Linked DNA regions of Homo sapiens: all the other regions are linked to region 1. Evidence: promoter capture Hi-C in human tissues and cell types (Jung and others, 2019). All regions are on one chromosome and are shown on one strand. Each heading gives the region's core, a stretch centred on a gene start or on the middle of the fragment in contact. The rest is flanking DNA. Distances are from core to core; before and after follow the strand shown. Region 1 holds the start of CASZ1 (castor zinc finger 1). Region 2 overlaps PEX14 (peroxisomal biogenesis factor 14). Region 3 overlaps CASZ1 (castor zinc finger 1).

What was found. Contacts are between HindIII fragments. The study calls those that stand out against the background at their distance.
Region 2: a contact is called between a fragment that was not itself captured here and the fragment with the promoter of CASZ1 in region 1, in 4 of the 25 tissues and cell types used here (dorsolateral prefrontal cortex, mesenchymal stem cells, mesendoderm cells and 1 more).
Region 3: a fragment that was not itself captured here is called in contact with the fragment with the promoter of CASZ1 in region 1 in 1 of the 25 tissues and cell types used here (neural progenitor cells).

The regions. Positions count from the first base shown.
Region 1 is chr1:10,794,996-10,799,047 of GRCh38, reverse strand. It overlaps CASZ1 (castor zinc finger 1), which reads left to right and starts at 2,402. Exons shown (of 21, transcript NM_001079843.3): 1 at 2,402-2,484. The HindIII fragment of the contact is 29,932 bases long and covers 1-4,052 here.
Region 2 is chr1:10,548,394-10,552,445 of GRCh38, reverse strand. The region is part of intron 3 of PEX14 (peroxisomal biogenesis factor 14); the gene reads right to left. Among named protein-coding and RNA genes, the nearest start is that of PEX14, 75 kb to the right of the region's middle. The HindIII fragment of the contact is 6,902 bases long and covers 1-4,052 here.
Region 3 is chr1:10,648,332-10,652,383 of GRCh38, reverse strand. It overlaps CASZ1 (castor zinc finger 1), which reads left to right. Exons shown (of 21, transcript NM_001079843.3): 12 at 1,308-1,443; 13 at 1,629-1,692; 14 at 2,947-3,101; 15 at 3,192-3,314. Among named protein-coding and RNA genes, the nearest start is that of CASZ1, 150 kb to the left of the region's middle. The HindIII fragment of the contact is 4,971 bases long and covers 1-4,052 here.

The DNA.
Region 1 (4,052 bases), core at 1,153-3,652:
TTGTTGGAGGGGGAAAAAAAGGACAAAGGAGAAGGAATGGAGAGAGGATGGAAAGAAATGAGAAGTAAAGGGAGCACTGGATGTCCCAAGGAGCAATGACAATTACTGGCATTTATCGATCAATATCTTGGCCCAGGCCCTTTTCCTGCATTAACTCATTTTAGCTTCTCAACAATCCCAGGCAGTAGGTACTATTATTATCCCCATTTTACTGTGGAGGCAACTGAGGCACAGACGGGTCAAATGCCTTCCTCAAGGTCACCCAGCTGGTGGAGCGGTAGGGTCTCACCCCCAAGCCCAAGCTGCTAACCCCTTCTTTACGCTGCCCCAGGAGTGGACTCAGCCGTGAGCCAATAAGGTAGAAGAGCTACCTTGCCACTTCTCAGGTTACTGCCCCTCACTGTGCCTCAGTTTCTCCTTCTGTAGGATGACAAGATTGGGCTTGAGATCTCTGGGGCTGTGCATCCTGCTAAGTCACCAGGCACAAGGGTCTTAGAGATGGTGGGTGAGCCCTCAACCCCTGAGAGCTGAGAATGCCTTGGATGGTGGGGGCGGCAATGGAGAGTAACCAATCAGTGGTCTTTGAGGGATGTTAATTATCGTTGTGTTGCTGCTTCCAGTCAATTATTGGGATAAGGAGGGGGGAAAACAAAATGAACCCGAAACATGTGTCTAATGTCTAAATCTGGCTTTCCTGTGTGGACAGATCCTGAATGGACCCCCAGAACTATTCCAGGAAGTGAGGAGCTGGTTTTTTGAGCTGGTTTCTTCCCCAGTCCATCTAACACAAGCAAATATCACTGAGTATCTAAGGAGTGTGGGATGGCTCAGCTTCCTCTCCCAAATTTGTTGGCTTTATTAGGGCACAGGGCAAATCCTGGCCTCCTCAGGGCCAGAGGGCCATCATGTCTCCAGTCTGTGTCCATATGCTTCTGGACAATTAACTTCCAGTTTAAGGCAGGACATGGGAATGCATCCCGGAAGATGCTTGTCTTAGACAATCATCATACAGGGTTTTGGGTCGTTTCTCTGGTCCTGAGAGGCTTTCCTGACACCTTGCAGATTAGGCTCCAAATACTACCAGCCTGCAACAATGTTTACCAGCCTGTGGCATTGCCTCTTAGTTTAATGCATTCTGTTGAGCAGGGCTTGAAGCTGTGGGTCATACTTTGAATTTATATTCATTTATTCCACAAATCATTGATCTATTTCGTTTACTGTTATGGTCAGTTTCTCACTTATCTCATCATCTGGGTGTTTTCAGTTTCTTTCATGCCTCTCGATATTTCCATCCCACGCTTATGCTGAAGGGAAAAGCAGCTCAGGCCTGGAATGAGGGGTGCGCTTGCTGAGAAAGGCAAGACCAGAGCTACAGGGCCTCAGCACTGAAGCTGACTACTAGGCTCAGCTGGTGTGGCCACCTCAAACCAACTGGGAAATGGGAAGTCTGGGTATGGGAGAAAAGGGGGTTTCTTCAATAAAGTATGAAAGTGCCCCTCAAAAGGCCCTTCCCCCCCATCTGGGGGCAAGGGGATTATCTCTCGCAAGACACTGCTTTGTTTTGTTTTGTCAGAAATGAGGTCTAGCTATGTTGCCCAAGCTGGTCTCGAACTCCTGGGCTCAACCGATGCTCCTGCCTCGGCCTCCCAAAGTGCTGGGATTACAGGCGTAAACCACCATGCCGGCCCCCAAGACACTTTTTAGCCTATTGCCTTGGTTTATTTTCTTCATGGATACTTTCACTCTCTGAAATAACATTATCCACTTGTTTTAATGTGTATTATCTGCCCCCCCCCCAGCCCCTCCATGTAAGGTTCATTCTGCACGGCCTATCTTGCTCACTTAAGGATTTATTTCTTGCACAATAGATTGAATGAAAAACTCCCTTGCAAAGAATAAGTGCAAAGCAGATATCAAACAGTGAGAACATTTCGTTCCTTTGGGTTCCACAGTTCTAACATTCTAACTTGCAAAAAAGAGCCAGTTCTTCTGTCGAAAGTGGGAACCGAACTCGGGCTCTCTCGGGGTTCAGAACAGGTGGAAAGTAACCCCCCCCCCCATCCCTTCTCTCTTTTCCCCTAGCCTCAACTCAACTCAGCTGGGGGGGGGTGTAGAAGCCTCTGGACCTGCAAAAGGGGGCCGAGCGCTCAGATGCTCCTCCGCAGGCCGTGCGACTCGCCGCGCGCACACGCTGAGCTCAGCCCGGGCGGTGGGTGGGAAGGATCCGGGAGGGGCAGGTCTGGGGGTGTGAGGGTGGAGCGGAGCCCGGCCCCGCGATCCGGCCCGGGTTTTGCATGCCACCCACTCGCCCGCCCGGCCGCGGAGAATTCCATAATCACAGCGGGCGAGAGCGGAGACTGGGAGCGAAAAATCCGGGATCCGGCAACTTTGGGCAGCGCATGCGCGCCCGCGGCGCTCCATCCCAAACACACACACATTTTTCCCCCGGACTTGGAAAGTCACCCAAAGCCGCCCCAAGTGCAGGTAAGAGACTCGGCGCTCCCTCCGCCGCGGCCCCCCCACGTCCCCCAGCTCCGCGGGCCTCCCGGGGCGCCTCCCCGTCTCTCCCCCTGTCCCGGTGCACCCCCCCCACCCCCGGGGCTGCCGCTTGCAGCAGGGAGCGGGCGAGCGAGCGAGCGAGCGAGCCAGCCAGCCAGCCTGCGATCGGCGGCTGCCACCCAACTCCGGCCGTGCGGAGGCAGGGGGCACGGAGGGCTGGCACCCGGGCGCGGGGCGGCGCGTTGCCTGCCGTGGCCAGGGGAATGCCCGGCGCGCGGCTCCGGGGGAGGGGAGGGCTGCTCCTCCTGGGGGTCGCTTACTCCAACTGAGGGGGTGGCGGGGTAGGGGAGAAGAGAGGGAGGTGCCAGGCGCGAGCACAGGACTTTGCAAATAGGGTGGGGGCGCCCCACGCGCTGTGGGCTCCCGGGGGGGCAGGTGATCTCCAATACCGGGTAATCACTCCTTCCCCTTAAACCCCCACCCCACCCCACCCCCCAGCAGCAGAGGGGTCGTGCGCTCTCCAGGGCAGAGAAGGAGGCGGGGTGAGGGGTGCCTGGGGTGACTTTGCAAGACTTTGCCCATGGGAAGGGGTGGGTGGGGAACCCCTCCAGCCGGCTCTTGTGCCCGGATACCGGGTGTAGGTGCTGCCAGCAGAGGTAGGCAGTGTTCGCTTAGGCGCGGGGTGCCAAAGGGTATCCCCCATAGGAAATCGAAGGCAAGAGATTTCTTAGATGGGGGGAGCGGCGCCCCCTTTTTCATCTGTGCCTGGGAAGTTTATCTCAAGTGCGCTGCTCCAGGCGCGGCAAGTGGCGTTCCTCACTCCCTTCCCCACCCCACCCCCTGCCTCCCCAGCTGAAGGGCTGGCAACACAGGGCACGGGGAGCCGGGGCATCGGCCCAGAGCTGCCCGGCTGTCGGCTGGAGCCCGCCTGGGTCCCGGGGAAAGTTCGGGCGAGTTGTTGCCGGCTGTTGTGTGCGCCAGAAGAGAAGTTGCGCCCGGGGACGTGGGACGCTGGGCTGGCGGGCTAGCGGGCTGGTAGAGTGGTGCGCTCCGGGGGGGCTCTGCAGCGTGGGAGAGGGTCGGTCGGGGTCTGTTCCCCCAGGGTGGGCTGAGGGTGACCTCGGAGCTCAACAATTGGGGAGGAGGAGCCCTGAATCCAAGGGCACAGGGCTGAAATAGGCACCTGGTGAAGGACAGAGAAAAAAGTAGTTTGTGGGGGCGCAGGGAACACCAAAGGGAGAGAGCCGGTTTCCCGGTCACTTAGGGTCCGGCTTAACGGCAAAGGAGAGCGTGGTGACTGACGGAGGAGCGTCGGGGAGCGGGGATCCAGGGGGCGCGCGGGAATGGGGGATCGGGCCAGACCGAGTCAGGGATCTCCCGGGGCAGGGGGCCGATTCGTGCGCCCGGGGTGAGCCGGACGGGCGGAGCGGCGGCCGGTTTATTTTTACTCGGTGGCATTTGCAGAATGTGCAGCTGATGGCCGTCGGCCGCCAGGAAGTTTTGCTTTCTGTTCTTTCTCTCTCTTTCCGAAGCCAGCACTGCCGGGAGCTGGC
Region 2 (4,052 bases), core at 645-3,144, 250 kb after region 1:
TTTTGAGACGGAGTCTTGCCCTGTTGCCCAGGCTGGAGTACAATGGCGTGATCTCAGATCACTGTAAACTCCGCCTCCCAGGTTCAAACGATTCTCCTGCCTCAGCCTCCTGAGTAACTGGGATTACAGGCGTCCGCCACCATGCCCAGCTAATTTTTGTATTTTTAGTAGAGATGGAGTTTCACCACATTGGCCAGGCTGGTCTTGAACTCCTGACCTCGTGATTTGCCCGTCTCGGCCTCCCAAAGTGCTGGTATTACTGGCATGAGCCACCACACCCAGCCCGGAGATAGTTTTTAAATGTTTATGTTTCATCTAAGTATGCAGTATGCAGTATAACTTATTTTTTTTTTGAGACAGAGTCTTGTTCTGTCGCCCAGGCTGGAGTGCAGCAGCACGATCTCAGCTCACTGCAACCTCCACCTCCCGGGTTCAAGAGATTCTCCTGCCTCAGCCTCCTGAGTAGCTGGGACTACAGGTGCCTGCCACCACACCCGGCTAATTTTTGTATTTTTAGTAGAGGCGGGGTTTCACCATGTTGGCCAAGCTGGTCTCGAACTCCACACCTGCCTCAGCCTCCCTAAGTGCTGGGACTGTAAACAGGCATGAGCCACCGTGCCTGGCCATAACTTTCTGATTGTATTTTTGTTAGGCTAACATTAAAATTAGTTTGCATCCCTGATACCAAACTGGTTGGAAGGGAAGTAGAGCTGCAGAAAATTAAAGAAAAATTGGTATAAGATAAAACTTCTACAATGCATCATTCACAAGTGAATAGCGAGAACTAACTACACATGTATATTCTTGGTTCACCACAAAATCCTTTTAAACAAATACCTACCATTTCCCCAAAACAAACAGAGTAATTATGGTAAGGCCTTGTTAGTGTTCAGGCAGTATGCGTGAAATACATTTACTGCCCTGGAGTCACCTCTAAAGAATCTCCAAGCCGAATCCGTGCTGCTGGGATAAAGCTGCCTAATGCACCAGCCTCCAGCGCGCTGTGTAATGACATCCACGCTAATGGAGATGAGCTCGGCTTCATGGAGGTTCGACTCCTGAGAATGGATCTTAAAGGTGAGGCACGGAAGCTCAGGAGAAAGTCGATTTAATTTGTTTAACATTATAAAAAGGGACATTTCCACATGGACAGCAAGGACATGAATATCATGTGTGTATGGCAGAATTATAAACACATTTTTGGCGAAATTCAATAAAGCTGATTCCGCTGCAGAAGGTCAGCAATTTACTATAAAAAATGATATGATTGCAATTTTTAATATAACCCATGTATTTGCTGCAAGATGCTCTAGAAGATTGTGTAATGTAACCATTCGACCTCTCCACAGGAGCAGAGGTCACCCTATGTACCCTTTATTGTCCTGATAAAAGCGTCCATACAGAACAACAAAGTCAACGGCATTTACTTTAGAGCCACACTCAAGCCCAAGACTTCCTCTTCTCACACACAAGAATGGGGCTTAGGATGAAAGCCCTCATGGAAGGCAGCAGGAAAAACTCCAAATTAAATTCACTTCCTATGTAGCAAAATAATTACTGAAATGTATATGAAAAGGTATAGACGAACTAAGTAACCTCTGTAGTCATTCTAGATTTCATTTTCTACAATGTGATTCTTCAAGGGGAGAGCACAGGCGCAGACTACACCCTGAAATTCAACTCAGTGATGACAGAGACCCTGCTCCTCAAATTGGGTGGGCTTCCATATGTCTCATAAGCCCATGTTTACACTTTTTGAGGAAATGACTTAGGTTACCATGAAAATTAAATGGGCAAATGTATGTGTGAATGCTTTTAAGCTGTAAAGCAAAATACACATGCCAGTGGCTATTATACAGTCTGTACCGTATCATCTCAGGCTTGCCTGTAAATTAAAACATCTGTATTACTAGTAGCTTCTACAGCCTCATCACCAAGTTCTCTAAGGGTGTGGACCATTTATGTCCCCAGTGCACTTAGCATAGCACTTGGCAAACAGCAGATGAGGAATGCTTGGTGAACAGAGCTGAACTTGGTCACAGCTGACATGGACAATTCTAGACTGGGAGAATAGAACTTTTATTTTCCATGGTGTCTCCAGATGGAAGCTATAAAATGTCACTCTCATTTTCACTCACTGCTGCAGGAGTTCCTAGATCAAATCAAGCTCCTTTCCTGCCTTGGAGTCTTTGAGAGCTTGCTGTCCTTTCTGCCCGGGATTCTCATTCTTCACAGAACCACTTATCATTCTTCTGGTCTCAGCAACCTTCCCAATGCAAACCTACCCCACCCTCTCCATTATTCTCTCTCACAGCACCTTGCTTATCTGTATTTTGCTTGTTTGTTCATATTTCTGTGGAGTCTGCTTCCACCCCAGGCCTCTGTTTGTTTTATGTAAATGGTAACATTACATCCTCACTCCCAGGGCCAGCACCATGCCTTGTAAGATACATGCACTCAATAAATACTTGTTGGATGGAAAGATGGATGGATGGATGGATGGGTGGTGGATGAATGAATAGTAAAAATCTTTCCAAATAAGGTACTAAGATCTTCCAAAGAACAGTGCTATTTTATGTTATTTCTGTTATTTTCTATTATTTCTGCCTGTTACAGGTTGAGCATCCCTGATCCAAAAATCTGAAATCCAAAATAATCCAAAATCTGAAACGTTTTGAGTGCCAACATGACATTCAAAGGAAATGCTCATTGGAGGATTTTGGAATAGGGATGTTCAACCAACACAATATTCTGCAAATATTCCAAAATCTGAAAAAATCCAAACTGAAACATTTCTGGTCCCAAGCATTTTGGATCGGAGATACTTAACCTTTATTTCTATTTCAGCACTGTGTCTCCTCTTTTCAGGACTGCCTAAAGGAGAGCCTTTGATTGGGAAAAAAAAATGTAAGTAAATATGAGAAATAGACTCAAAGAGGACATCATGGAGCTCCATATTTATTCTCTTTCAATTACATTCTGTGCAAATTATCTTCACGTAAAAGTTACACCGATTTTTCTAGCTGCCTCTTCTTCAAATTCGACCTGTGTTCTTTCGGCCAAGACCCCAAATTTTGCAATTAGAATAATTTAATTCACAATTCCGCGTGTGACTTATAAAGCTGGGGAGAGTATGGCTTTGTTCTTTAGCTTCATAGGTTTACTACTGTCAGTGTTAAAATATTTTTCTTACAGCTTAAAGCCAAAACAGACTGAAAAAGAGTCCCATTCCTATGCACTTTCAGTTTCATTGAAAAGATGACATTTACGTGGTTGTGATATTTAATTTATCACAGAGGGTCATGATTTTTTTTTTCCTGACATACCATGATATAGTAAACTTGAACTTCATGAATGAAAGCCTCTGCAACCATTTAACAATCTGAAAATCCACACAAAATTTAAGACCACCGTATTACTAAAGACAATCTACTCAACAATCTAATTACAGAAAGATTACTTTAAAGGGCTTTAAAACTAAAAAGAATAATTAACAGTAAGAGATTAGAGCATGCCCAAGTCCTCTGTCTGATGAGAGGGGAGAGTTCTGAGGAGATCAGCTCCTATCAGGATGTTGAAGAAACTGAACAGGTATGTTTGAAGTTGGAAAGGAAACATTAGTAGAGTTGTTCAATTCTCAGAACAATTGAAATATAAGTCAGCTTGCCCCATCACTCTGTTTACTGAGGACCATTAGTGAGTTACCTTTACTTCAAAAACGGAAAGAAGACCAAGCTGTGGAATGACCAACCTAGCAAGCCTATCTATAGTTAAAAATAAATTTAAAATAGAAGCACACCATCACATACAAAGATAAGAATACTCCGTATTCATACAATTACAGATACACTAATTCATACACCACCCCCCAACAGATAAACTTAGATTTTTAAAAGACATCAGCTCAAAAGTGTTGAATATAACAATGGATTGGTAAATTAATGAATACTATCCAAAGTTATTTTTAAATCTTTCTAATTACAGTCCAATCAACATAAAATGTTTTTCAGTAGAGATTGCCTTATGTTATACCTTATGTTAAGTTTCAAAAA
Region 3 (4,052 bases), core at 1,054-3,553, 150 kb after region 1:
ACGCCAGACAGAGCCCCACGCCGTGGAGCCAGCAGACGGTCAGGGATGGTCTGTCCCGGGCACATGGCTAGGAAGTGGTGAACCAAGGCGCTGCCCGCAGGAGTGGGGCTCCTGGGCCTAGATGCCCTGTTCCCATTCGAAACCCTCTCAGAACCAGCCAAGACTGAGGGTCCCTGTGGCCCAGTCTGGGGCTCTGCCCACACCTTGCAGAGGCTGCCAGTGCTTGGCAGGGGAGCTGGGCCGTTTTCCTGGGACCTTGGGCAGGTGACTTTGGAGAGCTGCTGGAATGTGAAGTCCCAAGGTCTGAAAACTCTCACAGGCCCAATAGGACGCTCATGCCCGGTGGCCGCGTGGAGGGACCGCCTCCTGGTCCAGGCATGGGTGGGGCCTCGCTGGCCACGCCCTTCCAGCCAGGTGCCTGATGGATGGGGCAGGGCCCACTCCAGGGCCACGTGGGCTCGGTGGCCAGACTGTCAAGTACTTTGTTTTCATTAGAAAAGTCTCCTTCTCCCAAAAGAAAGATCAAGCACAGGGGAGGGGGCCGTTTTATTTTTTAATAAAATGCCACTTGCTGTTTCTGAAGCAGCACTCTGTCAGCTACAGCACCTTGGGGCAAATTCATATTTCCGTCACTGGGGGATTGTAGGGGAAAGCTCGCTGGATGGCCCTGTCAGCAACTTCTTTTACCCCTGCTCTGCTGGCCTCCTGCGGCCTCACCCGCCCAGCTCCCTTCCGGACCCAGCTCGGCCCAGCCTGGCCTCGTGTCCCTGCCCCGGATAGCTTGACTGCGAGGTCACCCGGTGTGGCCGCTCTGATTGGCCATCGGCCCCATCGCCCTGACACAGCAGAGGCCCTTCCTGGGCATGCTCCGTGCGGGGGCCGTCACCCCAGCAACCGCGGGCTGGGGACCACAGAGGGGCCCTCCCAGTCCAGATCTGCCACTTTCCCTCAGCATTAACAGAGTCTTTAATAAAAGCCTAAGCGGCAGCCCCACAAATCGACTGTGACAGTTGGTGGAGAAAATGAAGGGCCCCCGCCCCCACCCCAGCCCCCTCCCCAGCCTCCCGCCCTTCTCCTCCAGGAGGCCCTGAGCCAGGACAACTTTGACATAATTTTGCAATAATTATCACTTGAAGAATTGCCACACAGGAGCGAGCGTCGCGAGCGATCACGTCAGCGGGAGAAGCGCTGACCAGTAGCCGGGGCCCACCCAGCCCACTGCCCTCCCTCCAGGGGGCACGGCGGCTGTCTGTGCCCGGGCCAGGCCTTCAGCCCCTCTGACGCATCTTCCCACCCCTCCCCTGCAGGAAGCGGGCAGCAGGTCACCCCAGCCAGGTTCCCCCCGGCCCAAGTGAAGCCGGAACCCGGTGAGAGCACCGGCGCCCCAGGCCCCCACGAAGCCTCCCAGGACCGCAGTCTAGACCTGACTGTGAAGGAGCCCAGGTGAGGCGAGGCCCCCTATGGGAGCCAGCCCCGGGAACCACACCTTCGAGCTGGAGCCCCGGGGTGGTCCCGCCCAGGCAGTTGCAGCGGGCTCGGCTGGAGCCCCAGGGTCGGGCAGGGAAGGTGAGCCCCAGGGCCCAGGCCCCGGCCGTCTGAGCTCAAGTCCCTTGGTTTGTGTGTTCTAGCAACGAATCAAATGGCCACGCAGTCCCGGCAAATTCATCTCTTTTATCCTCGCTTATGAATAAGGTAAGAGCCATCCATCACACGCCTCCCGTTCCCCCACCCAGAGAAATTAAAGCTGTGCTGGGGGGTGGGGGGATGTGTTTGTTTTTTAATGTTTTGCCTCTAATAAGATGAGTTTGTACCATTTAAATTTTGAGGCCATTTTTCATCGGATATAATTTCAGAGCCACTGCTTACAAATTAATTTAATGAACTGGCTGAAGAAATATATTCCAGCCTCTGACACCTTTTTTTCCCTTCAGATGGAGGGCTCCAAAAGCTTTTCCAGAGCCCTTCAACTTCGTTCGTGCCTCGTTATTAATTTTATTTATTTATTTTATATATATTTTTTGTTTGTTTAAAAGGGGATGGGGGAGGGGGGACTAAAGTGGGAGCAAAACATCAATTTCCACTTTTCCGGTTGAGTAATGGTCTCGGACGCCTTCCGGAGAGGTCGCTCCGGAATATTTATTTTAAATAATGCAGGGTCTTTGTAAATTATACATCATCTCAAATACATTTTTCCCCTTCACATGATACATTTGACTACAGCAAGATTAATTCGGTTACTGTACACAAGTGACTGCCCTGAGGAGGGGCCGGGCCCGGGCCGGACCTCTCGCCGCAGGGCCCCAGCCGGGCACTCGGTGGGGAAGGAGCCTCACTGGTCCGTGGCATCCACTCCTTGGCCACTTGCCCTCTTGCTCTCCTTCCCCCTCCCCTTCCTTTGGCCTCCGCCCCCACGACCCCCTCCCTTCCCTTGGATCCTCGCAATGACCCCCTCCCGGCCGCTGCAGCAAGCCTGTCTGGGTCTCACCCGTGAGCCTCCCTCCCTCCCTCCCTCCCTCTCTCTCCTTTGTGGGCCTCCTCTTGTTCTCAAGGAATTCGTAGGGGTTCCCCCATCCCTCCTCCTTCTGCGCTTCTTTTGAAAACCTTCTGGCAGGAAAATAACCAGGGAGCCGCGAAGTCTGGGGAAAGATGGGCTGCAGCGTGCACCCTGAGTCGCGGCCTCGGCTTGAGTGATGGATCCCGCGGCACGGGCTCATGTGGAGGAGCCCTGAGGAGGCCTCGCAGCTCCTGGGGTCGGGGCAGCACAGCAGGCTCTCTGTTCAGAGAGGGCCCAGCCACAGCCAGAGCCAAGTAGGCGGGCCGCATTCTCTGCTGGCTCTGAGGGCTGGGTGGGTCCCAGCAGCCCAGAGCTTCGGCTGTTGCTCCCCAGGCTGCCGTGTCTGTGTTCTAAGCTACCCCAGCCCCATGCTCGGCCTCTGTCCCTCACAGATGTCTCAGGGCAACCCTGGCCTGGGCAGCCTGCTGAACATCAAGGCGGAAGCGGAGGGGAGCCCCGCTGCGGAGCCCTCGCCCTTCCTAGGCAAGGCCGTGAAGGCGCTGGTTCAGGAGAAGTTGGCAGAGCCCTGGAAGGTGTACCTGCGCAGGTGAGGGGCTGCTGGCCGCGTCCACCCATCGTCCCCCCGCACCCGCCCTGGAGCCCCAGGCTCTCCTCTAACGCCAGCTCCTCTGGCTAGGTTTGGTACAAAGGACTTCTGTGACGGCCAGTGTGACTTCCTCCACAAGGCCCACTTCCACTGCGTGGTGGAGGAATGCGGCGCGCTCTTCAGCACCTTGGACGGGGCCATCAAGCACGCAAAGTGAGTAGGGTGCTGGGGGCCATTTCCACAGAGCCCCACGGATCCCAGCCTGGCTCTGGGGTGGGTGGGGCTCAGGCTGGTACAGCAGTTCCCGCTGGGCCACAGAAGCTGAGCCGGCTTCTCGGAGATGCTGCCCCAGCAAGGGTGGGCTTCCCATCCTCCTTCACACATGCAGCCCTCAGCCGGGGGCTCTGAGCCCCTGTCCAGGCCCTTCCTGGGACCCTGAGCAACAGCTGCTGCTGCACCCACGTCCCCAGGGCAGCCATCAGTCCCAGCACGTGCTCCCTGCAGAGCAGGCCAGAGGGGCACAGAGCCCAGCTGGAGAGACTCGGCTGTGACCTGGAGCAGGAACCCTAGCTGAAGGCCTTTCCAAGCCACAATATTACATCTCTAGGTTACCTTTGACCTAAACATAATGAAATGAATTTGTAAATCCCATTGAGTTAAAAGGCTTCGAGCCTAGCCGCCCACTTATAAGGGAACTCAGAACTTGAAATCGTTTAAAACAGACCTGCAGTGCTCCCAAGGCTTTTCCGACCGCGTAGGCACCCTCGGCCGTAGCCCGCGGGGAAGCCTGCTGTGAATACTGAGAATCCTACCTTTAAGACCTCCGAGCAGGTTCTGGAAGGAAGAGGCTTCCTGGGGCAGGGCCTGCTGTCACACATATGGAGGAGCTGGGGACCGAGGAAGGGCACAAGTAGGAAGGCATGGTTAGGCCCAAGCCAGGAGACCAAGTTC